Regions from separate parts of the Homo sapiens genome. Here region 1 is linked to region 2. The links are contacts of gene promoters, found by promoter capture Hi-C in human tissues and cell types (Jung and others, 2019). All regions are on one chromosome and are shown on one strand. Each heading gives the region's core, a stretch centred on a gene start or on the middle of the fragment in contact. The rest is flanking DNA. Distances are from core to core; before and after follow the strand shown. Region 1 has its middle 7.8 kb from the start of SOX9. Region 2 holds the start of COG1 (component of oligomeric golgi complex 1).

Region 1 (3,212 bases), core at 611-3,110, 1.1 Mb after region 2:
TGCACTCATTTGAGAATACTAGTAAGTGAAGTACATTCAAAGAAGACTGTCAAATATAAAAGGGTTTTGGAACCCTATCACATGTAAAATGTATTGGAAGTGTTTAGATTGGGAAGAGTAAAAGAAAACTTTAAAACTGCACACATAGTTGAAAGGCTGTCACTTGGAAGAAAGATAAGACACACTGTTCTGCTGTGGAGGTGGGCCACCTTGGACCATCGCGTGGAAACTGCAGAGGTAAGATTTTTCCACAATTAAAGATCTCCATGGTGGATGTGAGCTCTCAATCCATGCAGGTATTCTGGAGGCAATGGAGGAGTATTCAATAGCTGAGATAATGTATAAGAGATTTTTGCAATGCAAACACAAATAAATTAAAAGACCTTTCTTTATACCTTCCTCATTTCTGATTCCTTCCTCATATCTGCAGGGTACATTAACCAAATCTGTAGAGATCAAAAGGCCCTTTGGATACTAGGGACTGGATTTTTCTCTTGGGATCTCTGCTATAAAGAGGATTGTGAGATCCATGAATCCATGGTTCATTAAGAGGTAGAGAGACTAATAGAGGGTTACTGGGGGGTGGGGCAGAGGGGCAGGAGGGAGTGGCTAAGGTAAAAATAGAGTGGGTTCCCTTTATGTAAATGGAGTCAATTTTATATCACTGAAAAAGAGATGAAGATCAGGAGAGGAAAAATGAACTCAGCATGTTCTCACCAAAACCATTTCCAAATCCATCAACTCCTCCTTCCCTGTGCCTGTTCTCCCAGTTGGCTCTAATGAGTTGCATTTTTTCCCCTATGGCATGCAAACAAGGAAAGACCAGGAAGTACTATTTATTTGCGCCCGCCTCCTCTTCATGAAAATGTAAGCTCCATGAGGCAGTCTTTCTTGTTCATGGTTGCGTCCTAATCAAATATTTATGGCAAGAATGAGGAGTGGGAATAATTCTAGAGTGGAATATGACAGTGGGAAATAATGGTGATCAGATGAACCTCCATATAAAATCCTGAATGCTCAAGGGACATGTCTAACAATAGCTTCAAGGAACTATTGCCCCAAATTTAGCCTGGTTGTTTTCTGAGATTACCTGGCCCATGTTGTATCTGGTCAAAAAAGAACGATTCTCCAGAAATTCGGAGTAAAATAGTTCTAGTCTGTGCTTGATAAAAGAGGAAAAGCTCAATCAGGGCCCAGCAAAGTTTTCAGCTGTCAGAGTCAAGGGGAGACTGAGAAAATGCAGAGGAGAGATGGCAAAGAAAAGAAAAAAAGGAATGAGCAGGAAGAGGAAAGGGAAAGAATAGGAGGGCAGGTCATTGCATTTCTTGTGTGCAAGAAACCTGTCTTATGCCCGTAAGTGAATGTCATTTGAGAAGCAAAAATTCATTTGACTCTCAGAGGGATGAGAAACTGTGTAAGGACAAGTGGTAGAGTGTTATTGCAGAGATTCCAGTGTGTTCTTTGGCAATACCGTCACGTTCATGGATACGATGGAAGGTAGATATTTGTTTAGCACCTACTATGTTTCAGGCACTGTTGAGAACAGAAAGAAATGTATTCTGCTATCTTCTATGGCAGCCTCTAATGCTTCAGTTTACTGGCCAATAGGTGTGATCAGGGGCAGATCCAGCTTTTGTGTGGCATGAAGTTTATGGTTTTTTTTTTTTTTTTTTTGAGGCGAAGTTCTTTAAGAAAAAGAATTTAAATTTTAAAAATTCAAGAATAAGTCCAGAGCCTTAAAAGGAGCCTGTGCTTTTGAGAGGTGCTGAAGCTTGAGCTTTGTTTGCTTCATAGTAAATCCATCTCTGGCTGTAGTGATAGTTCATCGATTACTTTAATATAAACGTGCCACCATGCTGCCTCACAAACGTTCATTTTGGAAATCAGGGAAGGAAAGGGATGGGATGGAGCTGAAGTGGGAAAGTCAAACAGCTCCAGTGAATCCCCATGGCTCTAATTTAATAATAGAGCAAAAGACCGATTCTTAAATGAGTTTATTTTTATTCCCTTTTGCTAAAAATTTCAGTTTTGTTAAAATGGTTAGAAAAGAAAAGGTTTTATTTTAAGTGCAAACAAACAAATAACCCTGGATCTACATACAAACTCTTTCCGGTGTGGAGGACTCTCCTAGGTTTCCAGTCAATGTGTTGCTGTTGCCAGGGTGATAAGCTCTGTGCTTCTGGTGTTAGACTAAAAATTCCTCCAAAATATTTTATAATCTGGTGATATTGGGCTTTGACTAGATCTGATAGATATGGGGGTGAGCGGGATTCTGAGGAATTCTCTCCCAGCACTCCTGTGTCTCTTGCATTTTACTGTGTATCAGAGCCACTTGGGGAGCTTATGAAACTCTTTTTCCTGGCTATTACTCCCAGGAATTCTAATGCAGGGGGACTGCTGTACAGACCAGGAGACTCCAATGCAGTCAACTCCCAGATTGCTCTGGCTAAAATCTCCTCTATTAACAACCCTGCTCTATGTAGGAGGAATTATAAACATACTCAGCAAAAGGGGAAAGTGAGGCACGGGAAAGCAAAACAACTTGCTTCAGTTCCCTTCACAAGTTTATGTCCGAACAGAATATTTTGGCTTCAAGAAGTCCTGGCAAAGGCCACATACTGGGAAAAAGAGCATATTTCTGGAAGGGAGAACAGTCTAGCAAACATACAGATTTGCTAGGGAAGGGGGTAGTCGCAGTGGAATGGTGTGTGTTGATTTTAATAGACAAAGGGATTAGAACGAATAAGGTAGGCAAGAATTAGTGAACACCACAGAGACTTTTAAAAAGGACTTTGTGAGTGTTGGCAAGAGAAAAAAAAAATAGAGATTTTGTAAGAAGGGAGGGCCTCAGCGCATGGAAGGCTATGTCACAAACAAGGAACAGAATTTGATGTCTGAAGGGGTAGGGAAGGATTTGCACAGTCCCCCGCAGATCACAGGCCCTCAATCAATGTTTGTCGAAGGAATTTGCAAAGGAGGCCGAGTACTAATGTTGCCTCGATTTGATAACTACCATTTTCCTGGTTGCCATGTTCCTGGTGTGGGATGTCAGCCAGGAATCCAATAAGCAGAAACAGACAATGTGAGGTAATGCCAGAGAGGTTGGACTCTGGTTAAGACTGCCAGAGACACAGGCCCAGTAGTAAAACTAGCCTGAGAGGGTGAAGGTGACTGACTCTTTAGAGACACTTCTCCAATCATCTGGGGTGTGG
Region 2 (2,917 bases), core at 123-2,622:
TCTGTGGCCCAGGCTGGAGTGCAGTGGCGCGATCTCGGCTCACTGCAAGCTCCGCCTCCCGGGTTCATGCCATTCTCCTGCCTCAGCCTCCCAGGTAGCTGGGACTACAGGCGCCGGCCACCACGCCTGGCTAATTTTGTGTATTTTTAGTAGAGACGGGGTTTCACCGTGTTAGCCAGGATGGTCTGGATCTCCTGACCTCGTGATCCACCCGCCTCGGCCTCCCAAAGTGCTGGGATTACAGGCGTGAGCCACCGCACCCGGCCAATAAAAATTCTTTAGGAACGCAAGCTGCAGCTCCAATATGAGGATGTGTTTGTTTACCTCCCATCCTTCCTCATTGTGTCTAATCAATAGCGTTTGGGGGGAAGAACACGGGATAAGGAGAACCTGAATGAAAAAAGCCTTAGTTCTGAAAATGAAAATGTTCAGCTATTAAAAGGTAAGGGCTTGGCCGGCTGTGGTGGCTCATGACTGTAATCCCAGCACTTTGGGAGACCCTGTCACATACATACATAAAGTTAAGGGCTTGATAGCTGGTACCCTCAACAACTCCCAAAGGGTAGAACAGCTATTTGGGGTTGTGGAAGTTATTCTTGGGGAGATAAGGGGAAGGTTGGGATGAGGAAGAAATGACTTGGAGTGCAGGTGTCAACATAGGGGAGAAACCTGAGGAAAAACAATGTCAGGACATGTTATATAGGTGAGCGTTGAACTGTCAAGACAGAAACTCCTGGCGTTTTCCGCTAAAATTGAAAGGAGCCCAGTGAGGTGTAGGAATCAAGGCCCGGAAGTCGGGGGAAAGCGCCTGAAGAAACTGTTGAATGGCATTTCCAGAACGGATCAGCAGCCGCATATGTGCAAGGAAGGCTGGCACTGTCCTCTGAGGGGGGCCCAAAGGGTGAGGGGCGGATAGGCTCCTGGCTAAGGAAGGTGAGGACTCGCGGGGTCTGGGACTGACAGAGGGGGGCGGGGTTGACCTGCAAGGCCAGGGGCTCCGGGACCCGCCTGCGGGTCGCAGGGTGGGGGCACGGGGACTGACCTGCTGGGCCCGCGGTGGCCGGGGCGCGGCCGAGCCGGCCTGGCGGAGGCGGGCGCAGTACTGGTCGGTGGCCTTCACGGCGTCCACTAGCCCCACGGCGCAGCGGCGCATCTGGCCGATGGTGTCGGCCGCCTCGATCAGGTCGCGGTACCGTTCGCCCACCATCTGCCGCAGCTCCTCCTTCTTGTGCTCGATCTCGGCCCGAACCTGGCGCTCCAGCCCGCGGATCTCCTCCGCTCCATGCGTCTCGAAAAGAGCCGCAGGGTCGCGCAGATCCAGCCGCTTCAGCGCGGGTGAGGTTGCCGCGGTGGCCATGGTGCACTCGTCAGCCCCCGGCGATCTACCTACGCCCTTTTAGTCCCGCCCCCTCCGCCATCTTCGTTGGGGGCGGAAGCGCTTCCGCCCCGCCGGGGGCCATGTTTGTTACCCGAGGGGGCGGGCGCGAGGGGGCGGGCGCGAGGGGGCGGGCGCGAGGGGGCGGGCGCGAGGGGGCGGGCGCGAGGGGGCGGGCGCGAGGGGGCGGGCGCGAGGGGGCGGGGGCGGGCGCGGGCGCGGGGGCGGGCGCGGTCCTGCGCGGGGTTTTCTTAAACGGAGCCGGCTGGGAAGTGAGGTCGCCAGAGAGGTGAGGTCGCCAGGTTGGCTGCGAAACTGTGGCTGAAGTCTTCCCTTTCCCTTAGGAGCAGAGCTTCTCTGTGGAGTTAGGTGTCGGGATCGGGCCCCGCGGACTGACGGCGTTGGCGCAGGCGCAGCCGCCGCTCTCCGCGCGCCTGGCGCCCGCGAGCAGACTCGGGCGCGCTCGCCGCCGCTGGGTCTCGGATCGCACCCCGCGTGCAGTTTTAGGAAGAGGGACATCCGCGCCCCTCGCTGTTCCCCGGGAAGAGCTACCACGCCGCCCCTGAAGGGGTTCTGAGCGCTTGTTTGGCGTCTGCTTTTCCTCTGCTGTTGATTCGTGTTGGAGGTTTTCCATTTCGTTTAAAACCGATGTTTAGCCCCTGAAGACGTTTTCCCTGCGAGAGCCTGACCTTGGTGGCCATGGGGGAGGAGGGCGGCGGGCTGGGCGGGAGAGGCTGGGACGCCCCGGGGAACGCAGCGCCAGACGGGTGGGCGCTCCTCACGTGGCCCAGGAATAGTAGAATCTGGAGATTGTGGCTTGTTTCTGCTAAGTCCCAGACCCTTCTTTTTTTTTTTTTCTGTTTTAATTTCTTTTGGAAGATTTCACCCACACCAGTGTCGACAAAATGATGCAATGTGCGCAGCGGCCATGCTGAGCCCCCAGCAACTCAGGGCCTACCCTGCATCCCTGCTCATTCCCTCTCCCACCCGCCACCTCCGGACGCACAGAATTTCAATCTGCAAATAAATGGTGCATTTATAATATTCCAGTTTAACCCGCAAGAGCCTTGCGGCGTAGGGAGTATCATTCTCACTTTACAGACTCATTTTACAGATGGGGAAACGGGGGCCCGGAGAGGCAAAGGGTTTTTTACTCAGTAAAAGTGCAGTTTTCAGAGCCTGTCCACGAGATTATCTCATTTTCTCGCACATCGGCCATGCCAGGTAGGTAGGAGTAATATTCCTAGTCCATTTATGAGGAAAAAAAAAAAAGAAACAAAAGCTTATTTACCTGCCCAAATTACATAGCTGATAGGTGACCCAGTGAGTATTTGGACGTCGATTTTTAAATTACTGGCTCGCGCTCTTTTCTACGTTTTCACATAATTTCCCACAGAGCACCCTCTGTTGGCAGGCCTGCAGTTTGCAGTCTCTAATCCCATTCTGCAAGGGACACTTACTGGTATTCGGCTGATAAGCATCCGCAGTATCTCCTTTCTGTGATTGGGGAATTCATCGCTATCTAGCAAAATCTTTTTTTCT

Evidence for each region. The method cuts DNA at HindIII sites, captures the fragments that hold promoters and counts their contacts. A contact is called where the count stands out against the background at its distance.
Region 1: a fragment that was not itself captured here is called in contact with the fragment with the promoter of COG1 in region 2 in 1 of the 25 tissues and cell types used here (neural progenitor cells).

The regions. Positions count from the first base shown.
Region 1 is chr17:72,127,181-72,130,392 of GRCh38, reverse strand. No RefSeq gene overlaps it. Among named protein-coding and RNA genes, the nearest start is that of SOX9, 7.8 kb to the right of the region's middle. The HindIII fragment of the contact is 5,610 bases long and covers 1-3,212 here.
Region 2 is chr17:73,191,510-73,194,426 of GRCh38, reverse strand. It overlaps COG1 (component of oligomeric golgi complex 1), which reads right to left and starts at 1,372. Exons shown (of 14, transcript NM_018714.3): 1 at 1,043-1,372. The coding sequence starts at 1,357. RefSeq lists a silencer at 881-1,090 and enhancers at 1,141-1,420, 2,051-2,100, 1,386-2,145. The HindIII fragment of the contact is 14,916 bases long and covers 1-2,917 here.